Regions from separate parts of the Homo sapiens genome. Here regions 1, 2, 4 and 5 are each linked to region 3. The links are contacts of gene promoters, found by promoter capture Hi-C in blood cells and fetal thymus (Javierre and others, 2016). All regions are on one chromosome and are shown on one strand. Each heading gives the region's core, a stretch centred on a gene start or on the middle of the fragment in contact. The rest is flanking DNA. Distances are from core to core; before and after follow the strand shown. Region 1 has its middle 48 kb from the start of FAM76B. Region 2 overlaps CEP57 (centrosomal protein 57). Region 3 holds the start of CWC15 (CWC15 spliceosome associated protein). Region 4 has its middle 25 kb from the start of FAM76B. Region 5 has its middle 72 kb from the start of FAM76B.

What was found. The method cuts DNA at HindIII sites, captures the fragments that hold promoters and counts their contacts. A CHiCAGO score of 5 or more calls a contact.
Region 1: a fragment that was not itself captured here is called in contact with the fragment with the promoter of CWC15 in region 3 in 2 of 17 cell types (total CD4 T cells and M2 macrophages); the score reaches 5.9 in total CD4 T cells.
Region 2: a contact is called between a fragment that was not itself captured here and the fragment with the promoter of CWC15 in region 3, in 1 of 17 cell types (non-activated CD4 T cells). The highest score is 8.7, in non-activated CD4 T cells.
Region 4: a contact is called between a fragment that was not itself captured here and the fragment with the promoter of CWC15 in region 3, in 2 of 17 cell types (naive CD8 T cells and monocytes). The highest score is 6.8, in naive CD8 T cells.
Region 5: a contact is called between a fragment that was not itself captured here and the fragment with the promoter of CWC15 in region 3, in 3 of 17 cell types (activated CD4 T cells, non-activated CD4 T cells and M2 macrophages). The highest score is 6.9, in activated CD4 T cells.

What each region holds. Positions count from the first base shown.
Region 1 is chr11:95,739,982-95,743,714 of GRCh38, forward strand. No RefSeq gene overlaps it. Among named protein-coding and RNA genes, the nearest start is that of FAM76B, 48 kb to the right of the region's middle. The HindIII fragment of the contact is 8,213 bases long and covers 1-3,733 here.
Region 2 is chr11:95,799,238-95,803,515 of GRCh38, forward strand. It overlaps CEP57 (centrosomal protein 57), which reads left to right. Exons shown (of 11, transcript NM_014679.5): 2 at 1-151. Among named protein-coding and RNA genes, the nearest start is that of CEP57, 11 kb to the left of the region's middle. The HindIII fragment of the contact is 2,015 bases long and covers 621-2,635 here.
Region 3 is chr11:94,971,976-94,976,095 of GRCh38, forward strand. It overlaps CWC15 (CWC15 spliceosome associated protein), which reads right to left and starts at 1,581. Exons shown (of 7, transcript NM_016403.4): 1 at 1,523-1,581; 2 at 80-218. The coding sequence starts at 210. It overlaps KDM4D (lysine demethylase 4D), which reads left to right and starts at 1,734. Exons shown (of 3, transcript NM_018039.3): 1 at 1,734-2,093; 2 at 3,679-3,773. RefSeq lists enhancers at 858-1,633, 1,348-1,517, 1,838-1,987. The HindIII fragment of the contact is 9,854 bases long and covers 1-4,036 here.
Region 4 is chr11:95,762,963-95,767,278 of GRCh38, forward strand. No RefSeq gene overlaps it. Among named protein-coding and RNA genes, the nearest start is that of FAM76B, 25 kb to the right of the region's middle. The HindIII fragment of the contact is 5,772 bases long and covers 1-4,316 here.
Region 5 is chr11:95,715,495-95,719,660 of GRCh38, forward strand. No RefSeq gene overlaps it. Among named protein-coding and RNA genes, the nearest start is that of FAM76B, 72 kb to the right of the region's middle. The HindIII fragment of the contact is 2,739 bases long and covers 450-3,188 here.

The DNA of each region.
Region 1 (3,733 bases), core at 153-2,652, 770 kb after region 3:
ACATTTAACAAATATTTGTTAAATGAAAAATCAAATAAGTGATAGTAGGCAGTTACCTTCAGCAAATACACTCACCATACATATGTACATACATAAAGGATGGGGTTCTTTTTTATATTTCTCAATCTGAACTGGGAGGTGAAGTCTCTCTTTGCTTGATTCTACCTGTGAGGGGAATCGTTCTGAAGTGCTGATACCTTAAGAGCACAACTGGCAGAATTGTGGAAAGCACCATAATCTACAGGTTTAAATCTTAGGTCTGTCTCTTAGTAGCTGTGTGACTTTGGGCAAGCTAGTTATTCTTTCTGTGTCTCAATGACCAAACTGTCAGATAGGAGTGATAATCAAGGTTGTCATGAGATAGGAATAAATTATATGCAGCTATGCATCACATAACAATGCTTCTGCCAACAACAGACTGCATATGCAATTATGGTCCCACAAGATTATAATGGAGCTGCCCTATACAGATATACCATTATTTTATCTCTTGCGCTGTATTTTTACTGTATTTTTTCTATGTTTAGGTATGTCTAGATACACAAATACTTACCATTATGTTACAATTGCCTACAGCATTCAGTTTAGCAGCATGCTGTACAGGTTTGTAGCCAAGCAGCAACAATAGGCTGGACCACCATATAGCCTAGATGTGCAGTAGGCTATTACTATCTAGGTTTGTGTAAGTACACTCTATGATATTCACATAATGATAAATGTGCCTAATAATCCATTTCTCAAAGGACATTTTCATCATTAAATGATGCATAACTATATATATAAAATATATATGTGTGTGCACACACACAAATATCTGTATGCAGCATGTGTCTTTATATATGACATATACTATATATATATATATATATATATATATATATATATGAAAGAAATGTGTAGTACACAATGAACACAATATAAGCCTGGGCTATTACTGTTGAAAGGTTGGGAGTAGAACACTAAGGAGTTTATGCACCCTTGCTCCCATGAAAATTGTTCTTTCTTTCTTTCTTTCTTTTTTTTTTTTTTTTTTTTTTGAGACAGAGCTTCGCCTTTGTTGCCCACGCTGGAGTGCAATGGCATGATCTCGGCTCACTGCAACCTCTGCCTCCCAGGTTCAAGCGATTCTCCTGCCTCAGCCTCCCAAGTAGCTGGGACTACAGGCATGCACCACCACACCCGGCTAACTTTTGTGTTTTTAGTAGAGATGGGGTTTCACCATGTTGCTCAGGCTGGTCTCGAACTCGCGACCTCAGGTGACCTGCCTGCCTCGGCCTCCCAAAGTACTGGGATTACAGGCATGAGCCACTGCACCCAGCCTAAATTGTTCTTTCTTAATGCTTTGTTCCCTTTTGGTATCTCTTAAAACTCACTTCTCACAATGTAAATGCAGCATGAGGAGCTAAAATCCTGACAAGGGATAGCATATATTTGTCTGGCCTTTCCCTCTACTCAGATTTCTCTGGGACCTATAGAAGTGTTGTCTGGTCAAGAATATTAGTTACCATATGACAGACTTTTGCACTTTTGCCTTCCCTTTTCTTCATCCTGGGGATATCTCATCACATCACCCACTGCTCAAAGGGCATGATAAATTCTAGCCAGGCAAAGCCCCCATCGCTGTACCAAAGGAGCTATATTCTCCTCCTAACCTAAATAGTGAATCAGTGTAACATAAACTTATATGACTAGTAAAATGGTTGCTGCTAGCTGACCAGCGGTCCTGTCAGGGAGTCATGCATTGTCGTGGTCTTTCAAATCAACTTAAGGTATGAATTATACACAATAAAGTGCACCTATTTCTTATATTTATATGTGAATGAGATTTGACAAATGTATAACCTCTATAACTACCACAGTCATCAATACATTTCCATCATCCCAAAAAGTTCCCTTGTCCCCTTGGTAGCAAATTATCGCCACCCTAGTCCCCAAGCAACCACTTATCTGTCACTTTAGTTGAGTTTTTGTCTTTGCTAAAATTTCGTACGTTTGCTTTTGTGTATTTTCTTTCATTCAGTTTATTTTTGAGTCATTTATGTGTTACATGTTTAAGTACTTTGCTCTTTTTTATTGCTAAGTAGTAATCCAGTGTGTGAATATACTATAATTTGTTTATTTATCAACCTAGTCATAGACATTTGAGTTGTTTGCTTTTTTTTTTTTTTTTTTGGCTGTTATGAATAAAGCTGCTATGAACATTCATGTAAAATTTTTTATGTGGACATATGCTCTCTTTCTCCTGTGTAGATTCCTAAACAGCATTGCTGGTCCTATGATAATTGTATTTTAACTTTATAAGAATATGCCAGACTGTTTTCCAAAGTGTTCTATCATTTTATATTCTCATAACTAATTTATGAGTTACAGTAGCTCCACATTTTGTAAATACTTCGTATTGTCAATCTCTTTAATTTTAGTAATTCTAGTGAATCCGTGATTGTATCTCATTGTGGTTTTTTTTTTTTTTTTTTTTTTGAGACGGAGTCTTGCTCTGTCGCCCAGGCTGGAGTGCAGTGGCGCGATCTTGGCTCACTGCAAGCTCCGCCTCCTGAATTCACGCCGTTCTCCCACCTCAGCCTCCCGAGTAGCTGGGACTACAGGCGCCCGCTACCATGCCCAGCTAATTTTTTTGTATTTTTAGTAGAGACGGGGTTTCACCGTGTTAGCCAGTATGTTCTCGATCTCCTGACCTCGTGATCCGCCCGCCTCGGCCTCCCAAAGTGCTGGGATTACAGGCGTGAGCCACCGCGCCAGGCCCTCATTGTGTTTTAATTTGCACTCCCTGATGATTAGTGATGTTCAGCATCTTTTCATGTGCTTATTGGCCATTTGCATATCTTCTTTCATGGTGAATCTGTTGAAATCTTTTGCCCATTTTCTACTTGGGATTTTTTTATCTTCTCATTGAATCCTAAGGTTCTTTTATGTTTATATACAAATCCTTTGTCAGATATACTTTGAAAATATTTTCTCCCAGTTTGTATTTGCCTTTCCATTCTCTTAATGGTCTTATGAGCAGAATATTTTAATTATGATAACGTTCTATTTTTCCATTTTTTCTTCATATTCCATGCTTTCTCTGTGCCTAAAACATCCATGCCAACGCAAAGTCACAAATATTTTCTGATATTTTTCTTCAAAAAATGTCATAAGTTTAGCATTATGTTTAGGCCTATAAGCCATGTCAAATTACTATGTAAAAAGAGTATGAAGTAAGGTGTGTGTGGTGTTCATTTTTTTTAATGGATAACCCAGTTGTTCTAGCATCATTTGTGGAAAATACTGCGTGAAAGGCAATTCTACACAAAAGCACACACACACCATCTTCTGTTCATTGATTTATTTGTCTATCCTTACATGAATATTACATTGTGTTTATTATTTTAGCTTTTATAAATTTTAAAAGAAGGTAGTATAAATCCTCCAATATTGTTCTTGTTTTTCAAAATTGTTTTCGTCATTCTACGTTCTTTGCATTTCCATATAAATTTTTGAATCAATTGACAATTCTAAAAAAAAAAAATCATGCTGCAACTGAGGTAAAACTCTACATCAAGTTAGCGGGAATTGACATCTTAGCAATATGGAGTGATCCAATCAGTGAACATGGTATATCTTACCATTTATTTGGCATTCTTTCATTTCTCTAAGCAAGGTTTTGTAGTTTTAAGGTTTTACAGTGTACATTCTTAATACCTTTTGTTAAATTTATCTCTAATTATTTTATCTT
Region 2 (4,278 bases), core at 378-2,877, 830 kb after region 3:
TTTGCTGAGCCATCAAGGTCTAATGGAAGCATGGTTCGGCATTCTTCATCTCCATATGTAGTATATCCTTCGGATAAGCCTTTCCTTAATAGTGATCTACGACGCTCCCCAAGTAAGCCTACACTTGCCTATCCAGAAAGCAACAGCAGAGGTAATCGAGCCTAACGAAATAAATGTTATTTGTGTTTTCTTGCTGCTTTAAAATTCTTAACTTTGTCCTCCATTATTTTGCCATTAGAGGAAAATATATTTCCCCTTTGCTTCCAGTTTCAGCCCCCAGAAAATATTATGCTTTTCTTGTATTCCTTATATTGATTGTTGAACATCATCATCCACCAAATTACTGATGCTAAAACACTTTGAGTCATCAGTGACTGCTCTGTAATCCCCACTATTAGTCCGGAATGAAGACCTTTTTTTGCTTCTGAAATATACCAAAAGCATACTGTTTTTTCTGCCTTTTTGTGTTCTCATTGCTTTGGTTCAGGCTTTCATCATCTGTAGCCCAGATGTTCATAGTACATTCCTCATTAATCTCCCTGCCTGTTTTCTCCTCCTCATCCCCAGTTAACAACATTTCTGTCATTTGTCATTATCCATCATCTCTCCCACAAAATTAAAGCTTTAGCATCTCTTCATAGCTTACATAATAAATTCTTAATTTTTCATAACCTAGACCCTATATGCCTCACCAGCTTCATCCCTAACTTGTCTTCTGTTTTTTCCTTTCCCATCCTTTGCTCTGGCTACTTTGAAATACATTTATTCCTGGAACCTGCCATCTGTATTAGTTTTCTTGTCGCCTTAACAAATTGCCATGAACTTAGCTTTAAATATTTGTTATCTCAGTTTTCTGTAGGTCGGAAATCTGTGTAGGCTTATCTGGGTCCTCTGTTTAGAGCCTTACAAGGCTGAAATCAAGGCTTTGCTTGGGGCTCTGTTCTTTACTAGAGGCTCTGGGGAAGATCTGCTTCCAAGCTCATTAAGATTCTTAGCCAAATTCAGTTCCTTGTCATTGCAGTACTGAGATTCTGTTGCTTTGCAGACTTTTACTTGAGGACAGTCTTTGCTCCTAGAAACTGTCCTCCTTCCTTCATGTTTCCCTTATTGTCTCCTACGGTAACAGTAGGTAGTCTCTCATGTTTCTTTTTTTTTTTTATTTTTTATTGTTTTTTTGGAGACAGAGTCTCACTCTGTCACCAGGCTGGAGTGCAGTGGCGGGATCCCGGCTCACTGCAACCTCCGCCTCCTGGATTCAAGCTATTGCTATTCTCTTGCCTCAGCCTCCTGAGTAGCTGGGACTACAGACGCGCCCAGCTAGTTTTTGTATTTTTAGTAGGGACGAGGTTTCACCATGTTGGCCCAGATGGTCTCAATCTCTGGACCTCGTGATCCACCCGCCTTGGCCTCCCAAAGTGCTGGGATTACAGGCATGAGCTACCGCGCCTGGCCAAGTCTCTTATGTTTCAAATCTCTCTGAGTTCTGTTGTTACATTTCTCTAACCACAGCGGGAGAAAATTTTCTGGTTATGTTATCAGATTGGGCCCACTCAGATAATGAAAAGATGGTTTTGATATTGAATTTGTTAATCGTCTTTTAGATGTTTCTTCATCTGTATCTTTTAAAATACACCTACCTCATACTTTGTGTGAAGTTTAAATGAAATATCTTTGCTTTATTTGGGATGCTGTGGCATTTCCTTTTTTTGAAAGTTGTGTTTAATCACTAATATTGCAACAATTCTATGTGTTAATGATTCTCTAGGTAAAAGAAATATTTTTGACATCGTAGGCTAAACAGGCATTTGTAAATTAGTTGAGGAACATTTTTTGTTTCAGTTGGGATATATATTGTAAGTATCCTAAAAATCTCAGAATGAACCTGTTTTGTAAACTGGACTGATTGTACAGTAAAATACCAAGTAGGTAATGATATCCAAATACCAGCTTAAATCCTAACCTATAATGGGTGCTGAAAAGTGTTTACTGAAATAAAAGTAACTAAATAGTGTGATGTCTTTTAAGAATTTTAGTACTCTGTAATCACTAACCTAGAAGCCTCTTTATTATAAGATACTGTGTCTCGATGATAACGAAAATTTTTAATTAATGGTTAAAGCAACTGATAAGGTTCTACACATCAGAGTATAGCAGGTTGGCAATTTAAGAAAATTAAGTTGCATGACATTCAAACAACATAGATTTTAAAAAGCAAAAAAAAAAAAAAAAAAATGACTGAAGCCCACAGTAGAGCAAAAATCAGTTGCAGTAAGTTTCTTATTCAAAAATAAGCACAAAACAAAATATCCATTTACAAAGTTCTAACAGGAACACAAAATCTAAGAATTAGATATTAATCCTTCAACTATAATATTGTATCTAGTTCTGATCTTTACACCCATGAAAGGAAACTTTTAAAAAGTTCAAAAAAATGACAAATTACTAGCAAAGAATAAGAAATATTAAGAAGGCAGATTTATTCACCGAGAATCAGAAAAATTTTAGCACAGCATGTTACTAATAGAGCTAAATTCTGCTTGAGTGCAACATCAGTGGTTTTAAGGAATAAAAGAGAAGTGAGACAAGCAGGGAGGAGACGGAGAGGAGAAATAAACAAGATAAAAAGTAACCTTTAAGCTTTTATGCCTTTAGAGCATGATGCGGTGAACTATTTAAGCAATGTCCCAGGATAATTATTATAATCCATTATCCTTTTATAGTGTTTTAATCCAACGATACTTACTTTCCAAATGGGAAGGAAAGACACAGAAATCACTATCCCCTTCTCACCCAGAAAAAAAATAAAGGCTGTGAGATATGAACAAAGACCAAGAGAGTTCAGAAAAGACATTTGTTGGGGATAGGGATAAGTGTGTTGGGGAGGTTAAAGGAGAGGAAAACCTCTCAGAGGAAAAACGAAATAATAGATAATCTGAGTTTTAAAGAATGAGCACAGTTCTATAAGAAGAAAAGTTCAACAAGAGTACAGCATGTGAAAGGTTTATAAACGTGACATGATTTTTTTTTTTTTTTTTTTGAGACAGTCTCACTCTGTCACCCAGGCTGGAGTGCGGTGGCATGATCTTGGCTCACTACAACCTCTGCCTCCCAGGTTCAAGCAATTCTCCTGCCTCAGCCTCCTGAGTAGCTGGGATTACAGACACATGCCACCACACCTGGCTAATTTTTGTATTTTTAGTAGAGACAGGGTTTAACCATGTTGGCCAGGATGGTCTCGATCTCTTGACCTCGTGATCCGCCCACCTCAGCCTCCCAAAGTGCTGGGATTACAGGTGTGAGCCACCGTGCCTGGCAAACCTGACATGATTTTTATTGCTTCATCAAGGACATTGTGGCTTAGTTTTTCTTACTGGGAATTTATGACAGTGAAGAATACAATGCCTAAAATAGTAGTTTAGTGTTACTACCTTGATTTGAGCTAAAATTAGGAATTTTACCCAACATTGCTTTTGCATGATCATTGGCAAACTTCAACACAGTGAAAAAAGTGAAGTCTTACTATTAATAGTATTATGAAAATAGTGTTGACCTCACAGGCCCTGGGAAAGGCCTCATGAGCTCTGCCCTCAATGTGCCTATGCCCCATATTTTGAGAACCACTGTAATCAAGGATATGAGTATGTCCAGAGTAGTATTTTGTTCATGTAAATACTTTTTTACCAGGTGTGAGAAGAATGTAGATAGTAGCATTTGTTCCAGAATCTAGATGATAGCTCCTTGAGGCCAAAGACAGTCTTCACGCCTTGCAGAGTGCTTCACACATTGTATGTGGTCTATATGTTTGAGGGACTGAGGTTTACATCAGAAGTAAGTCTAAACTGAAGCAACAAGACAGAACAGGAGACTGATTAAGGAAAGATTTATGCATATTTTGTTGTGGGGAATGAGGAAGATGGAGAAATCTTTGAGTCTAAGATTTCTAGTGAAGATGATTAGGGGTATGATTAGGACAGATGACACAAAAAAAGCATACTTAGAGGAATTGATATAATTTTGGCTGTATCAAATTTGAGATGCCTGTGAATTAGATGGAGATGAATACTAAGCAAATGAAAATTAAAAAGTCAAGTATAATAGAGAACACTACTAATGAACTCAGACATCATCAAGGATACAGTAGTGGATGAAGCCTATGAGTATAGAGGGGTTTCTCCAGAAAAAGAAAGTAGAGGGAGAAAAGGGCTTTGGAAAATACCACCATTAAAACAGTAAACTAAAAAGTAGGAAAAGTCAGAAAGGTGGAGAACTACCAAGACA
Region 3 (4,120 bases), core at 331-2,830:
CATACTACTATATCATGACCATGCCATTTAACAGATCTGGTCTTGTTTTGTGAACAATAAAAAAAGAAAGTCTTACTACCTGTATTTTATCTTTGTATGAGAGGGTAGGTCTCTGCTTGAATACTGCTTTGAAAGTTGGCTCAAATCACCTTCTCCTTTTCCCCTTCCACCTCTGGCAGGTTCAAAGGTTGGCCTGGCTGCTGTTGTCATCTTTTATGCTTTGAAGAAAAATATAATCAAGTTATTTCCAACATTACAAACACTCATTTTATAGAGTATTAATCAATATCCATACTGGTAAAATAAGTTCTAAAACTCATTCCCCAAAACCTGCTTAATCTTCTTAAACAAAAGTTTTCAAGAAAACAAATTATGAGGCTTAGGCTGTACAAGGAATATGGCTTCTCAGGCTTGCCTTAGTACAAAAAATTCTGTCATGAAGATCTGAGTTTGCATCCCTATTCTCCTTCTGACTATATGGGCTTGAGCAAGTCACCTGGCTTAACTTTGTCATCTGTGGAATGGAGATATTCCTCATAGATTATAAGAATTATGACACTTGACATGTCAAAACCCTAGTAAAATACAGTACTGCCATGACTGAGTTTTAAAAATTTCCAACTCAACCTTACTCTACCAGACTCTGTAAGGTTTGCATTTTATCTAAACTTCACACAATAGCAAATAGGCTAGTAGAAACAAAAGCTAAAAACAAACAAAAAATATCACTGACAAAGTTACTAAATGTCCCAGAGAAAAGTGTGTTAAACTTCAATGACAGTTACACAGAAAAAAATTCTTAAACAACCGTTTGTTGAGCCAATTTTCTCCTACAACAGGCATCATACTATAAATTAGATCGTTTGTGGGTTATAATTTAAGGCCTGTTCAAAAAAAACAGGAACCTCACCCCCAGAGGATTCTGATGCCAAAAATCAGGGACTCATTCCTCAAGTTACTTTCTGCTTGGAGCAGTCACAAGAATACTGTGCAGCAGATGCAGTCACTAAAACCCTGTTAGTGTCGGAAAAGCAAGTGTGTGGGGAGGGTGGGCGAATTGGGAGGATTTTTTGGGGGGGGGGCGATGCTAATTCTCTCAACTTTCAAAAAGGGTAGAGACATGTATACAAAGAAGAAAACAGGGTTATCTGGCGCTGGGGGCGCCGCCCCTTCCCACACACCCACGGAATTATCACTCCGGCCTCCCGTGAGCTAGTCTTTGGCTATAACCAGAAACTCGCTGCCTCTTCACCCGTGCCCAGCACTGCAGGGGTGCGAAGGGTAGTGAAGGGAGGACCTGGGGTTCGCTTTACGCAGTAGGCGAGCTGCCTGTACGCTGCGATCTCCTCGGCGGGCCCAAGAGCTCCAGACGCGCCTGACAGGCACTCGGTTCCGCCCCTAGCCCGCTGCTCCAGGGCCTCCACCGCCCGCGCTCTGCACTCTGCCGCCGACTCCGACCCCAACTGCCCTTTCCCGTCCCATCGCGATAAGAAAGATAATCTCCTATCCTCTTGCCGCTCACACTGGCCGAGGTCCGATGCAGCAGGCTCCGAAGATCATACAGACGCCATTACCACTCTTGGCTCCCAGAAACCTCTGCGCCCAGAGCTAGCGCCTACGACCCGGAAGCAAAATCCAAGCGCTTCGGGGGCGGAAGCAACGACCAATCCGCAGTGGCCGAAGTGGAAGTCGGCGTAACGGCACTAAGGGGCGGGGCCGAAGCGGCCCAGGGGGCGGGCGTTTGAAATCAGTGCCTTAGAGTAGACCCTAAACCTCATTTTATACCTTCAAGAACCAATTACTTAATGTCTCTTCCGTCTTTTCCGTCCCCGACCCCCTCCCAGACTCCTTCATTCCGGTACTGCGTGGACGGAAAGCCCCGGGTAGCCGACACCACGTCCCCGGCTAGCGGGAGAGAGCGTGGAAAAGGATTACACCAAACTGTTTAAATCCAACGACTCCTGCTTCCATCCTTTCTCCTGAGCTAGAACCAACAAACCTAGAGAGTTGGGCTTCGGAAAAACTAGTGTTTTCATTTAATTGGATATGAAGAAAGAACAAATATGTACGGGGCAACCACGATCTTTACAAAGGTACCATTCCTGCAAAAATATTAACACTTCAAAGCAAAGGTTGTATTCGTAATGTTTGCTAAAATTTCTTATTTAAAAAACGTTAGTTTTAGTGGGAGGGGAGATGTCAGTATTTACGAGAGCGTTTACAATGGTGGGCCCAACTACCAGGAGCACAAGATGTAATTATTAAGATGGCTACTTAAGTGTTAAGTTTTAATAAGACAACGAAAAGTAGAAAACCCGAAAACCAAAAACCTACCAGTCGTCTCTCCTCCCTTCCATAAAAACAAATTCTGAGAATAGAGATCTTGGTTGTTTAGCTCATCTTGGTATCTCATCACATAGACCTTGACGTATAGTAGCTGCTCAATTAATATTTGTTAAACAAATGAAAATTCAACTTCCCCAACTTAGTTTAAAATGTAAGGAACTCACAAAATTGAATATTTAAATGCTTTCTTACCCCTAAATTCTTTGCAACTTTTTAATGAAGAAAGAAAAGCAGAAAAAGCCCTTTCAGTCATAGAGTTCAAGATGAAAATCCTGATTTTTCTTACCGAAGGTATCCCTCCTCCAGTCTTAACAAGTCTCACTAAAAGACGCGATCATCATGCTAGTTACTCAAACCAAAATCCCGGAGTGCCTACTTAAATTCCTTTTCATTCACTCTTCACATACGGTTCATTTACAGGTCTTAACAATTCTACTTTTAAAACTCACCCGCAATTTTATTCTACTGCCACTACCCTTGCCTTTGCCAACACCATCTCCTACCTGGATTGTAATTGCTTCCTATTATATCTTCCTGCGTCATCTTTTATCCTACAGTCAGTGTTGCATATAGCCAAGAGAGTGATCTTTTAAAATTAATAAAATGGTGTTACTATCCTGTGTACAATTTCACTGCACTTAGAATAAAAATCACATTTCTTAATGTGACCTGAGACCCCACGGAGTCTGGTTCCTGCCTACCTTCCAGACTTCACTTCCAATCAGTCACTCGCTTACGCACTAAGCTCTAGACACAGCCAAGTGGGCATTTCTGTTTTATAAAACAGGGCAAGATTCCTTCTATTTTAGGGCCTTTGCACTAGCTTTTCTCTGTTGCCTGTGCCCCAAAGTAACTGTATCACCATCCTTCATGTCTCAGGTATCACAGTGAGGTTTTCCTACCCCCACCCCTCCAACACTTGTGTTTGTACACCATCACATCACCCTGTTTCATTTTTCATACCACTAAACATTACCAGAGTCTATTCTATTCATTTTTTATTTCCATGTCTCTCAGGAGACAGCATGCGAAGGTCATTAAGAGAAAAGGATCTTCAGCCTGCCCATTTTTGTTCTAAATTCCAGTTCTGCCCTTTCCTAGCTCTATAACCTTAGGCAAGTCATTTTCCCTTTCTGTGCTTTCAGTTTCCTCACGTGTAAAATGGGCGTAATTCTAGTCCCTAACTTGTAATACTACTCTAAGGATTAAGTGAATTAATACTTGTAAAGTGCTTAGAACTGTCTCAGCAAATAGTACTTGCTAAATAAATGTTAGCTATTATTATTATTATTAATATTATTTTTATTATTATTGTCTATCTTCCTATATTAGAACATAAGTTCCAGGAAAGCAGGAACCTTGTCTCTCTTGTTCACTGGGTGTATCCTCTGCATATAGAACAGTGCCTGGCACATAATAGGTGCTGAGTAAGTATTTGTTGAATGAATGAATGAATGAATGATGCACTATGAAGTAGAGGAATGACGTAACAATGGCAAGATGGTAACACAATTATAGGAGATACCCACAGTTTTTATGTTCCAACTGTCCTCATTAGCCTGGAGTGAATCACTTCATTGATTTAACTCCCAGCCCACTAACCTAATCTTTTGGTTGCCAGTGGTGATAAATAGCCACCCTATAATTTCATTAACACCAATATACAATATAGTCAATCCACAAAATTAAAAGCTTTTGACTTAAATGAAAGTGCTAATAAGAAAATGAAACTAAAGCTTTTGACTTAAATGGTTTGAAAGTATTAAGAAAAAGA
Region 4 (4,316 bases), core at 1,149-3,648, 790 kb after region 3:
TTGAAAATAAGAATGCAGACTTCATTTAGCATATATATACACACAAACACATATTATATATATATTTACTGGTTATGAGTTTTGACTGTTAGTTTGACTATAAAAGCACCTAGCTACAGAATGGTTATGCCATGACCCCAGACTAAGTCACACTTGTATTAAAAGTCATTTTAATATAAACAAAAGTTGGATGCAGTAATTATGCTGGCTTGGTGTTTGGTTTTATTTCTTTTATTTTTATTTTTTGAGACGGAGTTTCACTCTTGTTGCCCAGGCTGGAATGCAATGGTGCGGTCTCGGCTCACTGAAACCTCCGCCTCCAGGGTTCAAGCGATTCTCCTGCCTCAGCCTCCCGAGTAGCTGGGATTACCAGCATGTGCCACCATGTCCAGCTAATTTTGTATTTTTAGTAGAGATGGAGTTTCTCCATGTTGGTCACGCTGGTCTCAAACTCCTGACTTCAGGTGATCCACCCGCCTCAGCCTGCCAAAGTGCTAGGATTACAGGCGTGAGCCACCACACCCGGCTGGTGTTTGGTTTTTGTATGAACTCCACTTTTCCCAGTGCCCCACCTTCCTTTCAGCTACTTTCCAGGTTTCTCAGGTTACCTTCTCACTGCTGTTCCACCTCATCGTTTTCAGTTTCAGTCATCACTTTTCAGGTATTTTCTAAACTGTACAGTTTTTCTAGCTGCATTGATAAAAGAGGGGGTCACAACAGAAGGTGAATGGTCCAGCCCTTATGAACCCTTGATGTCCCAGTAGACATTGTTCCATGAATAATAGGGGAGGCCTAATAATCCTCTTGAAGAAAAATTCATGTCACATAGAATGTGCAAAAATGAGCAACATCTACAAAGAACGATCATTTAGGAGGCATTTAATACATGCGATGGCTTGATTCAAAGCCTATTTCTAGCCCAGGGGGTAATCCAAGCCTCAGCCTTGGTTTCATGGCTGCACAGGTTGTGTACTGTAGAATTCCAGGCTTCCAGGGGTGCATTGACAATGAAAAGCTCAATAATGCAGTGCCCATGTCATGTCTCTCTAGGAGACAATGGCTTAGTTGGAGATAGTAGGCTTCTGATTTAGAATTGATGATTTCTTAACCTATTATGTTACCCCTGGGTATACTGGGTGCAGGAACTTCCTCACAGATAGATGAAGGAGGGACCAAATAAATGTTGCACCTAGTGCATCAGTAGGACTGGATTTAGAGGGAAAGAAATGTGCACAAAAAAATCCAGTATGGAAATCTTTAAAGCAACTCCTTAAAATAGTATTTGCAAATTCAAAAACAATCCATTCAAAGACAAAATTATATTTTAAAACTCACTTTTATCGAATGGAAAAAAAAATGTACACTGGAATTGTGAAAAATAAATTGCATCTGAAAATGGGTTACCGTACATAATGAAACATTGTTACAAAGAGTATGAGGATGCTTGCTCTGATTACAGTGACTCCTGTAACAACGTGGCAAGTGAAAATACTGTATTATTTAGTAGTGAAGCCCTCCCCCTAGTGGAAATAGGTAGGAATTTTAAGAAAAAGGGTTAACACTTTTAAATACATTTTATTTCCTCTTAATATTTACAGAATTAAAGAAAAGAGGTGGAGAATAGCTGTAGTGTGGTATAAAGACTTTTCTTACAGGGCTTTTAGGCCATTATAAGAGCTGAGATGTAAAACTATTTTAGAGTTTTGAGTAGAGCAGCTGGTATGGTCTGAATGTTTGCATTCCCTCCCAAATTTATATGTTTTATTTTAATCACCAAGGTGATGGTATTAGAAAGTGAGGCCTTTTGGAGATGATTATGTCATGAGAAATCTGATCCAATGAATGGGATTAGTGCCCTTAAAAAAGAGGCCCCAGAGAGCTGCCTTGCCCTTTCCACCGTGTAAAGACACAGCAAGAAGGTTGTTTATGAGCATGGGTCCTTATCACACACAGAATCTACCAATTCCTTGATCTTGGACTTCCCAGCCTCTGCAACCATGAGATATAAATTTCTAATGTTCATAAGCTACCGAATCTAAGGTGTTATGTTATAGCAGTGCCAATGAACTAAGCAGGGGTTCTCAACCCTCGGCTGAGACTACTGACATTTTCAGTTAACAAATTCTTTATTGCATAGGGCTGTTTCGTGCATTGTCGAATATTTGGCAGCATCCCTGGCATCCACTCACTTGATGCTAGTAGCAACCTCTCCCCAACCCCACCAGTGTGATAATCAAAAATGTCTCCGGACATTGCCAAATATCCCCAGGGGAGCAAAATCACCCTCAGTTGAGAACCACTGGAATAGAGGGATAACATGACATGACATCTTTTAATAGGATCACTCTTTGTTGAGAACAGACTGCAGACAACAGAGATACCAGTTAGGATTGGAGATGACAAAAAAAAAAAAAAAAAAAAAAAGGTCAAACTTGAAGTTAGAGCTTGCAGAACTTTTCAAAGAACAGCCATGAAGTGGGAGAAAAAGAGTCAACAATATCATCAAGGATTTTGGCCTGTAACAACTAAAATTGAGTTGCCATTATCAGAGATGGGAAGATAGCAGAGTGGCTGCCTTGGTAGTTGTTTGGACTGGGGAGTGCAGATAAAGAGTACATCATTTTGGACGTGTAAAACTTGAGAGCCTTTGTAAGACACCCAGATGGAGATACCAAGTTTCATTGAATAGAAATTCTGGAAATTAGGGGGAGAGGTCTAGGCCGTTACTGTAAGTTTGGGAGTCATTAGGCTTATAGGTAATATTAATGAGTTTACCAAGAAAGCAAAAAAAGAGCCCTGAGCAACTCCAACCATTCCATGTAAGGGATAAGAGAAGGAACCAACAAAAGAAACTGAAAAGCATCACGAAAGGTAAGGGGTTAAAAAACGAAACAAAACAAACAAACAAAAAAAACAGGCAAATGTGATGTTCTAGAAGTCATGAACCTTTGGACATTTTTTCTCTTTACACAAAATGGTTTCATCTTAGTAAGTCCCTCCCTAATGTAAACATTTGTGAATATCTATACTTTATTATACTTTCTGCAATGATTTATTTACCTAGCTGTCTCTTCTAGATTATGAGCTCCTGGGAATAAGATTTATCTTTGCATCTTTGTAGTAATTAGCATAGTGACTGGTGCATAGCAGCACATAACACATGTTCAACTGATAATTAAATTTAACAGGAAATTCACCTCCCTGAAATGAAAATGTCTATACAGTAAGATATCACTCATTGAGATTCTCAATTAAAAATTAGCAAAAACTCAGATATAATTCAAATAACTGTGACATTTAAATTATGTCGCATCAAGGATCAAGGACACAGTACCAGCATCTGCCATGTTTGATCCTACTATGAAAGGGATACCAATCCTTGCCTCGACGTCAACCAGTGTATCAGCTTTTGTTTTATATATTGGGACTCTTGATAAGATTTTATTTAAAAAAAAAAGTTTCCATGGCTGAAAACTATGATGCCATTAATCAACCCTAATAGAATTTTCATCGACTGCATCAAGGGACATGCTCCAAAGTTGAAAAGGTAGTTAGCCTTTATATTACCTTATGTATTATTTTTAATTGATTAAAAGTCATATTATAAATCTATTATTATATTATGTAAAGTGCTTTGTGTATCAATACTTTACCTTAATGTTCATTAATAACTCTGTAATTACACAGATGAGGAAACTGAAACTCAGAGATATTAAGTACACCTCCAAGACACCTAGCTAGCAAATGGCAAAGTGGGATTTGAAACCTGACATTACACTAAAAAGTCGTCTTAAATATTTAATAGTGGTCTTAAATGCCTCACATGCACAGCTATGAAATGACAACAAATAATCGCTGTTGTTGTTTTAGTGTGGAAATTGTTTTTGTTAAGTAGGGGGAGAAAGGAAGAATGGAAACAGGAACCAGAATTACATTGTGGCATGATCATAGCCATTACTCACAATGCTGCAAGAAAACATATAAAACAGAAACAAATATGTCACCTGGGAGAACTGTGAGTGGTTTTTTCTTTTTTCTCCTGATTTTTGTGCTGTGCATTTTTTTTTTCAATAAGCATGTATTGTTCAAATTGAGCGTAACTTGGCAGGCAGGGGTGATGGTGGTAGTGTTACTTGTTATTAAGAAAAAATTTACACAAAAGTTGAATATAGTATAATAAACCACCATATAACTATCACCCAGTTTCAAAAATTAACAACTCACACCCAATCCTGTTTCATTTATATTCTCGTATCTCCCTCCCTATACTATTTTGAAGCAAATACCAATCATCATACCATTTCATTATAAATATT
Region 5 (4,166 bases), core at 569-3,068, 740 kb after region 3:
AGAGACAATGGAAGATACTTTAGCTAAAAGTAAAAGAAATTTTCAAAAATAAGGTTTATTAACGCTAGAATAATTTAACATAGGGAGCCTGTAGAACTTCATCACTGTAGGTGAGTTGAAAATGAGAGGATACTAAATTAGAGGTTTTATTTAAGAGTGGGTCTACCTAATTGCCTAGTAGGAAGTGAAAACAAATGATATTTCAAGCTTTCTTTTACCCTATGACTTTAAGGAAAAACAATAACAACCATAAAACACCACCACCTACGACAACAGTCTTCTGTGTTTTCCCATGCATTCAAATGAGCTAAAAAGTGATAAATGCATTGCAAGTAAAATAGCTATGCAGCACTCTTGGGAAATGTGGTTCCACGGAGATGCCACAGAGACTTTCATTGTAAAGCCTGGTACTGAAGTTTGGACAAAGGTGTGTTTGTGTGCAGTGACTAAGCTTGTGTGGGAGGGAGGCAACCACTGCAGATGGCTGAAAAATATGCTAATGTTGAAAGACCCATGTGATGGCTGGCATCCTGAAAGAGACACAGATGTTTCCTCCCAAGAAGAATTTTAGAACAAGTGGCTTGCTGACCTATTCAGGCTTGATTCCTTAACTGCATCTCAGGGTCATACACACGTCAGAACCACTGAGACAATTGTCCTCCTCACTTTGTACCCCAGGAAAGAGATAGAGCAGCTAATTAATCACAAGGCCTTTGCTGATAATACCTTTCATTTGAAATTTTTGTTGTTTTTGTTTTTAAGATGTTTTCATGTTCTCTGAGACTTGCTTTCAGAATGCTGCCTCTGTTCACATGCTGGGTCTCCTACAGTGCTCACATTGCTCCACTCTCTGTACGTTTTGTTTTTTTTCCCCATAAAAACCATCCCTCTTATATTCACTTTTTAAGTCTTTCTTTTCCCCACTAAACTATATGCTCATTTCATGGCAGGGAGCATGACTAACTTGTTAACCACAAAATCCCAAGAGCCCAACATAATGCAAGATACATAGAAGTCTCTCAAAAACATCTTTTCTCAGCACTCCTGAGAATACCTACAAGACATTCTCAGATATACTAGAGAGGCAGAGCGTAGATTGTCTTGTATTAGTCTACTTAAACAAGATTGTTCATTCCTTCATTTATTCAACAAAACTTCGGGGGTTTATATCATGTGTCAGGCACTGCTCTAAATGACCAGGATGCTGCAATAAAAAGAACAACAAAAAAAATTCCCATCCTTATGGGTTTAGGGTGTTAACATCAATATATTTTTAAAAGAAATTGAAAAAAACCCAGGTACTTCGACTACAAAAATCATTTTGTTTGCAGATTACCTAACACTGCTAACTCAAGTTCCTGGGTCTATAGAAGAAAAATAAAATTAAAAATTAAAAAACAGCCGGGCGCAGTGGCTCACGACTATAATCCTAGCACTTTGGAAGGCCAACACGGGCAGATTACCTGAGGTCAGGAGTTCGAGACCAGCCTGGTCAACATGGTGAAACCCTGTCTCTACTAAAAAAAAATACAAAAAAAAAAAATTAGCAAGGAGTGGTGGCACATGCTTGTAATCCCAGCTACTTGGGAGGCTGAGGCAGGAAAATCGCTTGAACCCAAGAGACAGAGGTTGCAGTGAGCCGAGATCATGCCACTGCACTCTAGCCTGGGCAACAGAGCGAGACTCTGTCTCAAAAAAATAAAAATAAATAAATAAATTAGTTAATTAATTAAAATTCAAAGACATTGCTAAGGATCTCACTAGTTTTCTTCTATCTTAATCAGGTAGGGATTGTCCCCATAAACAAGAAGAGTTCTAACCTGCAAAGCACAACTTAAAGAAATATAAATCTGCTGTAATGGATATGAAAGCTAACTGTGTACCACTCCATCCCCACCTTTCTGCTTCTGGCATTATAAGCTCTCCAATAGCTTTAGCATAAATTCACATGTCCTATTGTTTCTTGCCACCTCTCAGGGTTCTGAAGGAATAGGCACCAGGTTCTGATAAGAACAGAAACATCTGGAGTGTGGGAGTGTTCATCTAAAGAAAAAAAGTGAAAATAGCATGCATTGAACTGTTTGGTGTGCTAAGTAATGATTAGGGTTTTCACATACATTGTCTCATTTAATCTTTGCAATAAACAAACAACAAAGTACATCATATGCCCCCCTTTTATTTTCTACCAAAGAAGGAAATAGGGTAAGAGGTAGAGACGTACCTTTATGGATCTATAGAGAGATTTATGGCTTTTGTAATGGTCAGAGCACCTAAATCACTAATTAACTTCCTAGCAAATTTATAGGCTGACATAACAAGTGAATAAATGGTTTCACTAGATACTGAGGAATTTTATTGTTCATAACTTTGTGCCAAAAAAAAGAAATGGGAAACCATTAGATCAGAGAGAGTGGCCATCTACCTTCTATTCACCCAGGGAAGATTTTGTAGAAAAAATGGGAACTGGCTACAGTTGATACTATATAAAGAAATACTGACTTTTAAATTTCTTCACTCTCTTTCTTAACAGATTCTCTTTTTTTTTTTCTGTCCTTAAGGTCTCAAAGTTTTCTCCAGCTGAAAATACAGCTGCCTCATAGAAACACTGCATAAGAAAATTAATAACAATAAACCCCAGAGGAATCAGGGAAGTGGTGATAAGGCTGCTTTATGCTTTCCTTTTACCCAACTGAGAACTTCCTTTAGGCCTCACTTGCTGAATGCTAAGAGGCCAGGGAGGAGCACTAGGGAACATAGGAGAGAGACAGGATGGCGGGAAGCAGCGAACAGATATGGGAGCAAAGGGAATTTTAAAAAGAGGAAAGGTCTCTGGCCAGGGCTGGCCCAAGGAAAAAATTGAAGGTCAGCAGACGGGTTTTAACACAACCCTCTCCATCTCCCTGTCTATTACCTACAGTGTTTTCATCACCCTCAGCGCCTAGCCTCAGCTGCTCTAATTTCCCAGTTGCTCTAATTCCCATCCTCCCATCCACCTGAAACAACAAATGTTCCAGACCAAGAGTTAGTTTTGTGTTTACAGTAGAGCCTCATTTTGCACAAATGTAAGTCATGTTCTGATTTTAGAACCTAGTCTTGCCACTAGTTTTCTTTATCCTCAACCACAAACAAATCTATTAGCATGTATTAAGGCTATGGAAAAAAACAGACTGGACTATAACCAGCAGGCAAGCTTGAGAATGGACACTGCTCCCCATTCTCTTCCAGACAATTAATAGTTACTACAAAGGCAGAATGCTGTAAAGGGCCAGACACCAGCATATACACATTCTTTTTTCTTTGGTCTAGATCAATGGTAATCAAGTTTCAATATGCTTAATAATTACTGAATAGTAAATATCACAAAATCATTTACACTATAAATCATAGGTGATTTAAGGGCTTTTTTTTTTTTTTTTTTTCTGAGACAGGGTCTTACTCTGTCACCCAGGCTGGAGTGCAGTGGGCAATCTCGCCTCACTGCAACCTCCACCTCCTGGACTCTAGTAATTCTCGTGCCTCAGCCTCCCAAGTAGCTGGGATTACAGGCATGCACAACCAAGCCCTGCTAGTGATTTAAGGGTTTTTAAGTAAAATTTTGTCTCTGCAAAATTTTCATCTAGTTTTGACTTTTAAACATGCCCAGCTGAAAAAGGTCATCTCTACTATAATACATTTTTCTGGAGAGAAAATTATAGCATTTGAAATACTCTCTAAGGAGCCTATAACCACCAAAGATAAGAACAACTCCTCTTCCCATAACAAATCTCATCTGTCTCATGTCTTACTCTCTCAGGAATATCCTATTCCTCTGCTAAACTACTGCAGCTCAACCAGTGAATTAATCGGAGTTAAATTTTTCATGTTTCCTATACTTAAACAGCACCTATACTTTACATAAGACCTTAGTGCCTAAACCAAGGGATAAGGAACTGCGGGAAATTCCAAGCACTTTGGCAGAATCCGGAAGGGAAATACTTGAGTTAGGAAGTCAAACGCGTTTTTTAAAACCTCTTTAACCATGCCTTGTAGGTAAGGGCTTCCTCATCCTCCAGGAGTTTTGTTCTTGGCACACGCTGCCGACCTTACTGACAGCTCTCATGCCACAGCTGGTAAGTGACAGTAACAGTGGAATATTTGCCTGACTCTGAGGGATCTTTAGGGGAATG